2 separate regions of the Homo sapiens genome follow, and region 2 is linked to region 1. Evidence: promoter capture Hi-C in 16 types of primary human blood cells and fetal thymus (Javierre and others, 2016). All regions are on one chromosome and are shown on one strand. Each heading gives the region's core, a stretch centred on a gene start or on the middle of the fragment in contact. The rest is flanking DNA. Distances are from core to core; before and after follow the strand shown. Region 1 holds the start of AP3M1 (adaptor related protein complex 3 subunit mu 1). Region 2 overlaps SAMD8 (sterile alpha motif domain containing 8).

Region 1 (7,298 bases), core at 2,262-4,761:
CGAGATGGTGCCACTGCACTCCAACCTGTGCGCCAGAGTGAGACTCCAACTCAAAAATATATACAAAATTAAATTAAATTAAGATCTGAGAACTGAGAGGCACAGAGATAGAAAGGACACATGTGAGAGTGTCTAATACAAAGCCTGGACCCCATACATCTCTGCTTCAGTCAGACTATCTGCACTTCCCCAAGAGGCAGCTCTCTCCCAGTTCTGCCACCAAACAAACTTTCCTATAAGGCAGATACCCTACTTCACAGATACCCTACAGTCACAGATGACTGGTTAACTCCTAGTCATCTTTAAGAATACTCAGGTGTCATTTTCCCAAACCCCACTTATTTCCCACCAAGAGGATGGTACCTGTGCCTTACCTCTTTCTCTCTCTATATATATCCAGTTTTTAACACCATGTCTAAAATAGCATGTACTTGAAAGACAAACTGAAGGAAAAGACTTGGCACGTGCTCAACAAGCCTTGGAAGGCACTGTAGCCTCTTAAGAGGCGATCGCTAAAGAAATGAACTTGGATGAGATTTCCAAAGGAGAGAAAAGAAAACTAAGTTGTCTTAAATATAAGTGATCATCATGGAACACCTTCATCTAGGGAGCAGTTCCCAAAAATGTTTCTCCACTTCTTTCATCACAAAATAGCTCGTCTGTAACACAGGAATCATTGCTCCTACCTCATAGGTCACTGGGAGGGTTAAAAGAGATAACATATATAGAGCACATAGTATAATGTCTAGCACTCAATTAACGTTCCCTTCTTTCCCCTAATCCCACGTGAAAACATGTCAGAGCCTGATTCTTTCTTTATAAGCAACTGTTATATGCTGAAAAGCAACCGAGCCTAGAAAAATAATAGATATTTGAGAAAGGCAGACTAGTCTTGTCAGATGCTCCCTCTAGAACAGATTTCTCAACCTCAACACCGTTGACGTATTTGGCCAGATAATTCTTTGTTGTGGGGGTTGTCCTATGTAGCATGTTTAGCAGCACCCCTGAATTCCATCCACTAGGTGCCAATAGCTCTCCCTACCAAAAATATCTTTCTAGACCACGCCAAATGTCCCCTGGAGGGCAAAATTTCCCCTGGTGGAGAATTATTATCCCAGAGCTGACCAAATTCTCACAAATCCCTAAATCTAAATATTTTTCCTGACATCTACAAATATATCTCATTATTTGTTCCCACTGATGCTGCACATTAAATTATGCAAAGTCTTTATAATCCATTCTCCTTAACCAAAACCAGTAGCAATCCCCTGTCAAGCAAGTCATCATAAATTCAGTGTAAATACTCAATGCATTATCACACTTTGAGTCTGAAAGCAAATTAATATAATAAAAGTAATAATAGCCGATCCTAAAATGTCTCCCCACAAAATTAGAGATTTGTCCCAGTACTCAAGTGTCTAATCTTTTAACTTCATGTCTACAGGTGGCACTAAATTCATATTGTATAAAGTGAATTTTAGTTGCCTAAGGAATGCTCTCACCACAGCCTCACAAAGCACCAGGACTGCAGGTATAAGAAAACATGCTCAGCTAGTTCCTATTTCTGTTCCTGTACTAATTGTTTTATTTGGGCTTCAATATCTTCAATTGTAAAATAGGCATAATTCTTGCCTTCCTTTGATCACAGAACTGTCCAACAAGATAATAAATAGGAAAACACAGTGAAAATGGATCAGCATTATATATAATAATTTTTATTAAGGAAAAATCTAAGGAAATCTAAGGGTTATATGTTCAGTAGGATGGTAGGGAAAAGTTGCATCTGTCTTCCAGTTTGGCGAAGGAGGTGCCTTATAAGGAAATACTCTAATAAAGGGCAGAGTAGGGAAAGCACATGCCTTGAACTCAGGTAGGTCTGATTCAAAAGCCGTTGCTTTTTATTCTGCATATAGTTGGAATATTTAAAATAAAAATAGAATATCCTGAGGGTTTTTATTTTAAAGTTTATGTTCTTGGTATAAGGTAGGCACACTAACCCTTTGAGGGTAGTAGGAATACATTAAAGGAACTGGCAAGGATTTGTTCACCCTCCATTCAAAGCAGCATGAACACACCACCAGGCCCCTAAGTGTCCTTTTCTTTTCAATTGTGAGTGATTCCTTCCTTTGGAGGTGAAGAAGAGTGATACTGGAAGAAATGGGATATGTCCTGTTTAATCAGGAGTGTCCTAATAGTTTTAAATCAGTTTGATATGTCTATTTTAAGATGGAAAAAAAAATCGCTGCCTTTCAGCGAACATTTCCAAATCATCAAAGACTGCCTGCTTCACTTTATACTTATTAGGAAGGGATATTTTAACAAATGACTCTTCATAAGTAAAAGTTGCAACATCAATCACATGTGAGGCAGGTGTTAGGGGCAGCACTGTCCCCGTTGCTGCCAAAAAGTGTAAATAAAAAAGAGAAATCAACCTTTCCTATCCATTCATCCAAATGCTGCCCCTGCAAAGCATCGGAGGGGTCTGGGTCCCTGGTAGAGGGTCCTCAAAGGTACGGGCTTTCAGAATGTGCACGAAAAGGAAGGTCAACGTGCCCTTCCGCAACACTCTGAAAAATCCCCAAGAATTCTGACTTTGCCCCAGTGTACAGCAGTTGCCGAGCCTCTTTCCCGCCATCCCCCGGGAAGAGAAGGCGGCCGCCTACAGACGCTGCTCCGGTCCGACCCTCCGGGGTCGCACCAGCCCAGCCTGGGCTTGCTCGCAGGTGGCGCGGTCAGCCAGCTCGGTCCCCCTGCGGGCCACGACTGGCGAAGGGCTGCTGGAGCCGGAGCTGCACCAGACAGGCGGGGACTCAGCCAAACGGAGAGAACGTCTGGCAAGGGGTCGCGGCCAAGCGGGCAGCTGGGGGAGGTCCTGCGTGTTGGCCCCAAGCTGGCAGTGAGAGACACCACCCAGCGTCGGGGCCGTGCAACCCCACGTGGGCCCTGGCTTGCTTGCAGCGCCGTCACCCTCCTCCCCAAGTCCGGCAGCGCTCACCTCAGCGCTTGCGGCGCCTCCACCTTCAGCTTTTTGGGCTTCGGCTCCTCCTCAGCAGCTGCCATCTTCGCGCTCCCACCCCACTTTGGCTCTACAGCCCACCTCTGCCATCCACTCTCTGGTCCCGCCCCCTCTTCGCATCACCGCTTTCTCTTCTCCAAATCCCGCCCCTCCAGACTCCGCCCATTCTGTGCCGCTGTCATCCACAATCATTGGCTCTATCCGTCGGCACCAACAGCGAATGCCCCGCCCATTCCTGACCCCGCCTCCCCTACCATGAGGGACCCCAGACTGCGTTAGGCAGCAGATGACCGCCTGAATCTAGATGGAGAGAAACCCACCATTTTTCTAGGCCCTGGATTATGTAGAAGATTTAGATACTAAGCCTCAAGAGACGTCTTTCCTCTCATTTACGGTCTTCCTGCATATTTAAAATTTCTAATACGGTAGACAGAGTCGGTGTCTTTGAAGCTGTTAATCAGGCAATTTCCTGGGCACTCCAGCTGCGGGTCCTCGCGGCCTTCTCGGCTTCTCCAGCTTCGGTAGGAGAGGATCCGGCGCCGAATCACTGACTGGCACAGGTGTTGGGGTGAGTGTGAGGGGCGGGAAATCTGTGGACTGGGGACAGCTCCAAAACCCGGGAGTAGGCTGAATAGCTGGGGCCCCCGACTCCGATCTGGGCTCTAGGAGCGTCTTTGGTGCTGTTGGCCCGGGCCTCGCTTCCCCCCCACTCCCGGCCTTCCGGGCTTTCTCGCCAGCAAGGCCAGAAGGGAGCGGTCCACCTGCAGCCCAGTGTTCTCAGGCGCCTGAGCCCCGGAGGTCAAGCTTACTGGGTTCCCCCTCTATAGTGAGCTGGAGTACAGACGGCAGGAATCTCAGTCCCAGGTTTCTGCTTTGGAGGACAAAACCCCAAACGGACCTGAGCAGACGTCCTGTTAGCGGGTGGTGCCTGGAAGAGCCTGGGGTGAGGAATGCAGTGAGAAGGGTGTTGCAGTTCTTCAGGAGAGAGGTAACGGGGTTCTAAGCTGAGCAGGTGGCAGTGAGTGTGGAAGAGTGACGGGCGATGTGGCTGTTTGTATTTGGTAGATTTGTTTGAACCTGAAACTTACAGCCTTATGTGTGATTAAGAAGATGGTGCCAGTGACAGGAGGAGGTATTTTATGGAGTTTGAGTTTTATCGAATTTGAAACAGTGGTTTACATGGAGATTGTAGAAAGACTTTAAAAAAAATTATGAGAATTAAGCCCGAAAGACTTTCAAGGTGAGACCCAAAACAGATGAAGTTTCATATAAAAGGGTAAGAAGTATTTTTGTTTAGGAGAAAGTTATCAATGACATAAAATGCTGCAATGGTCAGAGGAGGAAGCTGAAATCAGAATAGGTCGTTGGATTTTATAATTAGAAAGTCATTGAGCTGTTTGAGAGAGATGCTTTAATAGTAACTGAGGAAAGACTGCAAGTGTAGACCAATCCTTCATCATTTGGGGCATGAAGCAAGATTATTGAGAGTGGCAAGGTGGGGGAAAGTTTGGGGTTTGTTTTAAAGAATACAAGATATCTATTTGGGGGCAGGAAGCAAGCAACTATTTGAAGATTCAAGAAAAAGTCTTGTCTCCCAGAAGAGAAGGAAAGGAATGGGATCAAGTTACAAGTGAAAGGATTAATTTGGGAAAGACAGAGGGACACTTTCAATTGACACTATAGGAGAAGTGAAGTGAATGAGGTTAATGAAGAATTATCTTAATTTACGAATCTTGGCCAGGCGCGGTGGCTCACGCCTGTAATCTCAGCACTTTGGCAGGCTGAAGCGGGCGGATCACAAAGTCAGGAGTTCGAGACCAACCTGGCCAACATAGTGAAACCCTGTCTCTACTAAAAATACAAAAATTAGCCAGGTGTGGTGGCACACGCCTGTAGTCCCAGCTACTTGGTAGGCTGAGGCAGGAGAATCCCTTGAACCCGGGAGGCGGAAGTTGCAGTAAGCTGAGACCTCACCACTGCACTCCACCCTGAGCGACAGAGCGAGACTCTGCCTCGAAAAAAAAAAAAAAAAAAAAAAAAAAAAAAAAAAAAAAACCTTACGTATCTTTAGGAAAGCTCTCTTTGCAACAAGATTATATTTTCTTACTTAATCTTATGATTTTTATTTCTAACCATTTAATATAATATACGGCCAGGCACGGTAGGGCTCATGCCTGTAATCCCAGCACTTTGAGAGGCTGAGGTGGGTGGATCACGAGGTCAAGAGATCGAGACCATCCTGGCAAATATGGAGAAACCCCGTCACTACTAAAAATATAAAAATTATCTGGGCGTGGTGGCACGTGCCTGTAGTCCCAGCTACTCGGGAGGTTGAGGCAGGAGAATCGCTTGAACCCAGGAAGCGGAGGTTGTGGTAAGCTGAGATTGCGCCACTGCACTCCAGCCTGGCAATAGAGTAAGACTCCGTCTCAAAAAAAAAAAAAACAAACCAATATACTATGGGCAGATGGAGTGCGGTGGCTCACGCCTGTAATCCTAGCACTTTGGGTGGGTGAGGCGGGAAAATCACTTGAGGCCAGGAGCTGGAAATCAGCCTGGGCAACATAGCGAGACTCCATCTCTACAAAAAATTTAAACATTAGCCAGGCTTTGTGGCATGTGGTTGTAGTCCTAGCTACTCAGGAGGTAGAGGCAGAATGAGGCAGAAGGATCACTTGAGCCCAGGAGTTCAAAGTTACAGTGAGCTATGATTGGTCCACTGCACTTCAGCCTGGGCAACAAAACAAGACCCTATCTCTTAAAAAAAAATACATATACACATACGCTATGGGAGTTCTTTGCAGATTTAAATATTTTTAAGTAGCTCAGTACTGTGTCAATTCATGAGTAGCACATGGTATTTACAGAGAAGAGGACTTCTCTCTCCCTTTGGAAATGACCTCTCTCCCATTACACAGAGAAGGAGAGCCATCATCTGCCTGCAGTCAAGTATACAAACCTTCCCTTCAATCTGAAGAGTAGAAAGTGTTCCTTCTCCTTAGAGAAGGCAAACCCTTTGACCTAGTCTCTCAGTAGCATCCTCTCCTGCTATGTCAGGGTCCTCTTTCCGTTTTTCCCTCTCTCCTATGTCAGCTTTTCCCCCTCTATTCACACCTTTCCTTCAGCATTTGAATGTATTCTTCCTTCACTTTATGAACTGCTGCATTTATTTTCCTGTCTTTTCATCCTCTTCACAGCTAGACTTCTTGAATCTACTCTACATATCTCTATTTTTTTACACTTCTTGCTATTTATTTCCCAGCCCACTGCAATGTCTTATTTCTAGCATTCCACTGAACTACCACCAAAACTATTTTTTTTTTCTGAGATGGAGTCTTGCTCTTGTCGCCCAGGCTGGAGTGCAATGGCAATCTCGGCTCACTGCAACCTCCGCCTCCAGAGTTCAAGTGATTCTTCCGCCTCAGCCTCCCGAGTAGCTGGGATTACAGGCGCCTACCACCATGCCCAGCTAACTTTTGTATTTTTAGTAGAGACAGGGTTTCGCCATGTTGGCCAGGCTGGTCTCGAACTCCTGACCTCGTGATCTGCCCGCCTCAGCCTCCCAAAGTGCTGGGATTACAGGTGTGAGCCACCGCACCCAGCCCACCAAAACTACCTTTACCAAGATCACCAGTGTCCTCTGTGTGTTAAATCATGCATTCTCAAAGCAGATAAAAACTGCTTCTTGTGAGGTGAAAAAAATATAATACTCTTTTTATGTGTAAAGCACAAATACAATACATAAACAGAGAATATTCTGTGGTATTAAAATTTTATGGTGATATTAATTAGCTTCATTTAATTATTCCACATTTCATAAATCATAACATCTGGTACCCCTAAATATATACAACTATAATTTGTCAATTTACAGTTGAAAAAGAAAGAATAATAAAAAGTTTTATGGGTGAGGAATTTGATTGGCAGGGTGGTGAGAAGATGGAGTCTAAAAGGGCTCCTTAGCAGGCATTAAGGAAAAGAAAGTTTAAAAAACACTCTTAAATCAACAGACATTTTCAATTCTTTTTTGTTGTTGTTGAGATGGAGTCTCGCTCTGTCATCCAGGCTAGAGTGCAGTGGCGCCATCTCGGCTCACTGCAGCCTCCACCTCCCGGGTTCAAGCGATTCTCCTGCCTCAGCCTCCAGAGCAGCCGGGATTACAGGCACCCACCACCACACCCAGCTAATTTGTTGGTATTTTTAGTGGAGATGGGATTTCACCATGTTGGCCAGGCTGGTCTCGAACTCCCGAGCTCAGGTGATACTCCCACTTTGGCCTCCC
Region 2 (7,298 bases), core at 2,611-5,110, 1.0 Mb before region 1:
GATACAAATAAATAGAGCTAGAAGTTCTATTTTTGCCCTTGCAATTCTGGTCAGAAAACTATGGAGAGGATAGCCACATAAAGAATTCTTGCAGCACAGCCACGAAAGGTTTCCCCCAAATTATTTTGTGATAACAGCAAACCTGCCTCCTTCAAAACCTCTTACTCTCTACCACTCTTCAATTACCCTTCAATAACACTACCCTACCTGGTCTTTAAAAAAAAAAAAGGAAAAGAAAAAAAAAGGCAACACTGCTGCCAGGAACACAGAAAATGCATTGAAGACTTGTAACATAACCTCCAGTTTGCATCCCCAAACCAAAAACCTTTTGGTTCCTTCCTTACTAAAGTCTCCATGATGATGTAAGCCTTCACAAGTCTGCAACTACAGAACCAAATACAAGGTCAAAAAATATGTAGACCAAAGCCATGTAGCTTCTCTGCTTAGCCACATTCACAGATAAAATGTAAACATAAATACTATCTTCACTATGGTTTAGATTTTAACCAGGAAAAAAAATGAAGACAAAATCTGGAAATTTCTGGACAAAACAAAAAGCAACTAAAATACAGGTTTCATGTTTAAGTAAAACTGAAAATAAATTTGTCTCAATGTTTTCCAAGAAAGAGATGATTAATTTATGTAAACACTGCCTTATAATAGTTAAAACAATAAGTTATACCTAACTTACATTTTTCTCAAAACATATATGAGCAAGTGCAAGGCTGAAAAGTTATTTTACAATCCCCATTGCAGTCTGTTGTTAGGTCTCTCAATGTCAATAGCTCTGCAAAGTTAGTTACATTTATTTTTCTATTTGGTCTTAGAATAGAATTTATATGAAGGAAAGAAGACTGAGGTTAATAGCTATTTAAGTTTTTGTTATTGATTGATTGATTGATTGAGGCAGGGTCTCACTCTGTCCCCAAGGCTGGAGTGCAGTGGCATGATTACAGCTCACTGTAGCCTCAACCTCCTTGGGCTCAAGTGATCCTTCTGCCTCAGCCTCCCATGTAGCTGGGACCACAGGCATGCATCACCACGCCCAGCTAATTTTCTAAACAACTTTTTGTGGGGATGAGGTCTCACTTTGTTGCCCAGGCTGGTCTCTTTTACCTGAGCTCAAGTGATCCTCCTGCCTTAGCCTCCCAAAGTGCTGCGATTACAGGCATTAGACACTGCACCCACTCTAATTTGTTTTGTTTTGTTTTGTTTCGTTTTGAGATGGAGTCTCACTCTGTCACCTAGGCTGGAGTGCAGTGGAGTGATCTCAGCTCAATGCAAACTCCACCTCCTGGGTTCAAGTGTTTCTTGTTCCTCAGTCTCCCAAGTAGCTGGGATTACAAGTGCGTGCCACCATGCCCAGCTAATTTTTGTAGTTTTAGTAGAGATGAGGTTTCACCATATTGGCCAGGCTAATCTCGAACTCCTGACCTCAAGCCATCCGCCTGCCTTGGCCTCCCAAAGTGCTGGGATTACAGGCGTGAGCCATTGCACCCAGCCATGTTTTTAAGAGAATGGGTCTTGCTACCTTGCCCGGGCTGGAATGCAGTGGTTATTCATAGGCGTTATAACACACTCTAGTTTCTAACTCCTGGCCTCAAGCAATCCTCCTGCCTCAGCCTCCTCAGAACCTGGGACTATAGCCTTGCACCACTGCACTCGGCTTAACATTTTAGCATTAATGTTGCCATACAGTTTTTTGAACCCTTTCCCAAAAGCCAACATCACTGCCTCCCTAGCTAAATTCAGTCTGTTCTGTCACGTAGAAAAATAACAGTAACATATCTTTTTACCTGAAGGGTCAAACCACTCTAACTGGCATAGGAAACATCCTTTATTTTTCATGATTATGCAACTTCTTTACATGAGATGTTGGCATTTTGTTCCTAGCATGTAACAGAATCAGTGATTTAAGATATCAGATTCTGAGTTGTGAGATTTAAAAGCATAAAAGTTGAATTGCCTTGCAGCATTTCTCAAGTGAGAAATACAAAAATGATGTTCACAGCAGACCCAAATTGGGGTCATTCAGCACTAGCTGAGACTTGTTTGCATAATTTCCTTTCCTACCCAATTCATTCAGGCTCCTATGTAGCTTATACAGGGGTGGGAATATGACTCAAAGTGCAAAAATAAAATATTTCACCCAGATAAGGAAGGAGCAAGCTTCTGCTATGTGGCCTAATTGCAGGCCTCAGAATGCCAGCACCTTTTCTAAGTTTTTGTTTTAAAATGGAATGTAAAAACTACATAATTAATATTCCAAGCAGCTTAAGCTCATTAGTTGGGAGTTTAAATTCCAATTCCATAACCATCCTACTGTCATAACTACTGTAAAAAAATCATTAAAAATAAAGTAACAAATGTTATCATAGATGTGAAATTACTTAAAGTACTAAATTTCTAGTGTTGTAAATAGCAGCTAAGTTATATCACTTCCTGACTGCCAAATTAAGACTAAATAGAAAGAATGTATATACACCATTATATTTAAAAGTAAAAAACAACGAAACTTTTTCATATCCAAGTATGTCTGAGACTGTTTACTTCCAACAGCCAAGAATGATAAATTTCAAAAACCAAAAAGTTATATTTTGCGTGCTGTAAGTTTCTTTTCAGGAGAAAACAATTCTTTGCATGCATACCTCCCTACTTAACGGCATTAAGAACTTTATCTAACATCTGGTAAAACACTCCTATTTGGCTCATTTAATAACACCATTAAAAAAGCATAAAATTGAACTGTCATCTAACAACTATAGCACAAAGAAGTTATTCTGGGTACCTATACCACTAACATTAAGCCCATTTATTTTTATGGATGCAGCCATTTTTCCCTCATGAATACTCACTGAGGGTCACACTGGCACTGCATCTTTTGTTGCATCTTTGGTGAAATATGCCAGCCCTACATTTGCATTAATGAGGAGACCAATGGCATCCTAGCCAGTACTCTGTCACGTCATCTATGGCCTCTTTCATTCTCTTCTTATTTCAGGCATCCTGGTATGCTCAGTATATTTAAAGATGGTTCAGAAGGCAAAAACTCTTTGTCAGTAAAACAGATCATGTCCCAGGGTTGCATTTTTTAAAATGAAACAAAGATTAGTCCAAAGAACAAGTACTGTCACTTGTTAGGGTTTCTTCTTCTAAAGGTAATAAGGAGCTTCAAAACATATTATTTCTTGACTAGAGCCCTACTGGAAATCAATGAAAATTCCTCAACCAGCAAACTGCTCAAGTTGACTTGTTTAAAGTTCAATAAGCAAATACTCAACAGGTAAGGGTACAGCCTGACTTCAATCACAACATTAAGTCTTCCTAAAGAGAAGGGGCAGAAAACATCTACTTAAGCTTTCTGTTCAAATAGCTACATAAGGACTCTTGATTGTTCTTTCTTGCTTTTTATAATCATAACTTTGCTCAGAACAGAAAACTTTACTTTGTCAACACATAAGCCAGGCATCTAAGAACAACCTAGGGGGAGAACGCAAAGTTACTCATTTTCAACAACTATTATATATTTAATCACAAATTCATTAGAAAGATAGTATTCATCCAATTAGTCTTTTCATTATTGCTGGTTTTGAAAATGGCCAACAATATTCATTAGGTACTGTGCCATTAACATTGCATTCAAAAAAAGAGAACATGGGAAACCAAATCCTTGCTCTCCTACTCTGCTGATATGCTCTGGTATTGGCCAGAGTATGGTAGTACAAAAAGAGTCTTGTTGTTATATAAAAAGCAATAAACACATCAATAGAATAATGTTCATGGGCAGCCAAGATGAAGAAGATTCCAAAGAGGTTGAGAACCCAGGATAAAGTGTGCAAGAAATTCCAGCTTCTTGGTGTATCTAGGAAAAGGACAGAAAGATCATTTTAAAGCTACATTCCTTCCAATGCTTCTCAGTCACGTTTCTCAGGTCAGGCTGTTTTGCCATTCTTCACAGGATCTGACACCCTTCCCACAGCCTTCACTGCAGCTAGTTACCTAATACGCATAGAAGCACTAAAAAGATACTTACATTCGGTGACAAAGAAATTCAGCATAGTTAGGACGACTGTGTGGCCACTAAACATGTAATCTCCACATGTGTGAACGCCAGTCAGGGTCATACCAAAGCCACTCCAAATGGCAAAGGCTCGATGTAATTTCTCCCATACACTGCCATATATCTATGAAGAAAAGTTATGAATTAGTGCTTCAAATGCTTAGGGAGGTGGGAACTTCCCAACATCCATTCCTATTGAAATTCAAATGCTGAATAACTTAGAAATAAGATCTAAGCCAAAGCATCTAGGCCTTCAGTCTAATGAATTCCAGCCAGACTTCAAGAATGGGTGGGCAAAGCTTGGCTGTACTCAGAAATATTTTGGTAATTAAATGAAATCAGACTGGGCACAGTGGCTCATGCCTGTAATCCCAGCACTTTGGGAGGCTGAGGTGGGTGGATCACCTGATGTCAGGAGTTCAACATCAGCCTGGCCAACATGGCGAAACCCCAACTCTACTAAAAATACAAAAATTAGCCAGGCATGGTGGTGCACACCTATAATCCCAGCTACTAGGGAGGCTAAGGCAGGAGAATCACTTGAACCTGGGAGGCGGAGGTTGCAGGGAGCCGAGATCGCGCCACTGTACTCCAGCCTGGGCGACACAGTAAGACTCTGTCTCAAAAAAATTGATTAATTAATTAAAAATAAATAAATAAATAAATAAATAAATGAAATCACTGTAACATGAACTCCTTTACTAGGAGTTCCTTTATAATAAAAAGTTCTCTATAATACAAAAACATCTCCAAGTTTTTAATCCAATATCACAGTAGTAGTTGCTTGGCTATTCTTGCCAATAAGACATAGGCTATGACAGACGGAGATCAATGTCTACCTTTCAACATCCACTCTCCCCTTCTTCACTGGTAACACAATCTCAAATATATTGAGGCAGCAATGAATTCAGCCAAAATATTGCCTTTCCCAGCCTCCCTTGTAGCTAGGTGTGGCCACGTGACTAAGTTCTGTACAATAAGATCTAAGTAGAAGTGTTAAGGGTTTCTGGGAAGGCTACTTATCAAGGTAAGAGACAACAGTTTTGAGGAAGTCTTTTCTAACTTTTTACCTTTCCTTTTTTTAGTCTACAACTCAGACTCATTCAACTGGAGGTGAAACTCCAGCAACCATCTTGGACCACAAAGTGGCCTTGAGGATACAAGCCAAGTATTGGGATAGCAGACCAGAAAGACAGAAGAATTATGGGGTTTTTTTGGATGACTTCGTAAAATTATCATACCAGACCTTGTGTACCTACCTTCAGACTCTTTTTTGAGAGAGAATAAACCATTGTGTGTTTATTAAACCATAGCCACTTTGAATTTCCAGTTATCAATAGCCAAACCTAATCCCAACTCCCACACATACGCCTAAAAAAGCAGTCCATTTTGAGGAAGACCTTGAGTGACAACTGCTTTACAAAAGAGGGACAGTCACTTAAAAAAAAAAAGCATACTGCAGGGTGCGGTGGCTCACGCCTATAATCCCAGCACTTTGAGAGGCCGAGGTGGGTGGATCATCTGAGGTCAGGAGTTCGAGATCAGCCTGACCAACATGGAAAACCCATCTCTACTAAAAGTACAAAAATTAGCTGGGCATGGTGGCACATGCCTGTAATCCCAGCTACTCAGGAGACTGAGGCAGGAAAATCTCTTGATCCCGGGAGGGGTAGGTTGTGGTGAGTAGAAATCGTGCCATTGCACTCCAGCCTGGGCAACAAGAGCAAAACTCCATCTCAAAAAAAAAAAAAAAAAAAAAGAGGCCAGGCACGGTGGCTCACGCCTGTAATCCCAGCACTTTGGGAGGCCGAGGTGGGTGGATCACAAGGTCAGGAGATTGAGACCATCCTGGCTAACACGGTGAAACCCCATCTCTACTAAATATACAAAAAATTAGCCGGGCTTGGTGGCGGGCACCTGCAGTCCCAGCTACTCGGGAGGCTGAGGCAGAAGAATGGCGTGAACCCGGTAGGTGGAGCTTGCAGTGAACAGAGATCGCGCCACTGCACTCTAGCCTGACTACACTCTAGCCTGGGCGACAGAGCGAGACTCCGTCTCAAAAAAACAACAACAACAACAAAAACCACACACAAAAAGGCATACTAGTATTATTATAATAATACAATTTAATAATAACATAATAATGGTACAAAAAGGTGCTAAAATTTTATGTACATTTACTATGTGCAAGGCATGCTGCTAAGTGCTTTATATGTTACTGCATTTAATTTCCACAGCAATCCTATGAAGTGATTTAATTGTGCAGATGAGGAAACTGGCTTAGAGAGGTCACATAGCTAGTAAGTAACACAGTCAGGATGTGAACCCAGGGAACCCAATTCCAAAGCCCTATGTCTTAAAGATTCTATCAAATATGACCAAAATAAACAACCTCATAGATATCACAATCTCATTAGGAATCTCACCTGCTGATTATACACTGCCCAGCTTTCCCTTTCTGCCTCATTTGAGGGAAAGAAAGGAAGAAGAATTTATTATTAGAGAGAAAGAAAGATAATACACATGGGTTTGGTTCTTCTGTGATCGCTATGAACACGGGCTTAGAGATATATTACTCTTGAGAAAGTAAAAAATCATGTAGTAAATAAACAGAAGAGACTGGTAGGAAAATGTCTCAACCAAGGATAGGAAACTAGTGATGCCAGTCAAAAGGCAGTTATCTCTCCATCCTTTCCCATCTTAAATGTCTCATATATCCTTCCAAAAAATAAAAACTGAAACACAACGGAGCAGAATGAATAGGATGTTTTGACAAGAGAAGGTGTAGAAATATGCATTAAGTGTTTCTAAATTTCAAAAATAGGCATGTTATTGGTTCTGTCCTCAAACCCCTTACTTCCAGGAATGCAATTTCAAGCAATTAATTTATTATAATGAAACTACCTTATGGAATTCACTGTAAGGGATTTGATTTCTATTTATAACAATTACTGCAAATAATACGGGTCAATAAGTAGGTTATATTATAATTCAAAGCAATTAACAGTATTTAGGTCAGATTGGAGTAGAAATATCTATATATAACCAACTGATAAAAACAGTCATTAGAGACAGAAAAAGGGCTGTTTATACCATAGAAGGATGGTATCTAATTTATTTTTGCAGCATATGTTGCAGCCCTATGCACGGATATCCCTCTCCTCAGTGGCTGTCCTACAATTAAATCCCTTAGCTATGGAAAATTTTCTCTTTTCAGTGTAATAAGCTTATATTTTTC

Evidence for each region. The method cuts DNA at HindIII sites, captures the fragments that hold promoters and counts their contacts. A CHiCAGO score of 5 or more calls a contact.
Region 2: a fragment that was not itself captured here is called in contact with the fragment with the promoter of AP3M1 in region 1 in 3 of 17 cell types (total CD8 T cells, naive CD4 T cells and total CD4 T cells); the score reaches 5.5 in total CD8 T cells.

Annotation. Positions count from the first base shown.
Region 1 is chr10:74,147,041-74,154,338 of GRCh38, reverse strand. It overlaps AP3M1 (adaptor related protein complex 3 subunit mu 1), which reads left to right and starts at 3,511. Exons shown (of 9, transcript NM_012095.6): 1 at 3,511-3,584. It overlaps ADK (adenosine kinase), which reads right to left and starts at 3,118. Exons shown (of 11, transcript NM_006721.4): 1 at 2,996-3,118. The coding sequence starts at 3,060. RefSeq lists enhancers at 2,768-2,947, 3,358-3,587. The HindIII fragment of the contact is 5,595 bases long and covers 1-3,822 here.
Region 2 is chr10:75,172,952-75,180,249 of GRCh38, reverse strand. It overlaps SAMD8 (sterile alpha motif domain containing 8), which reads right to left. Exons shown (of 6, transcript NM_001174156.2): 5 at 4,034-4,184; 6 at 1-3,862. The coding sequence ends at 3,558. Among named protein-coding and RNA genes, the nearest start is that of VDAC2, 34 kb to the left of the region's middle. The HindIII fragment of the contact is 1,002 bases long and covers 3,360-4,361 here.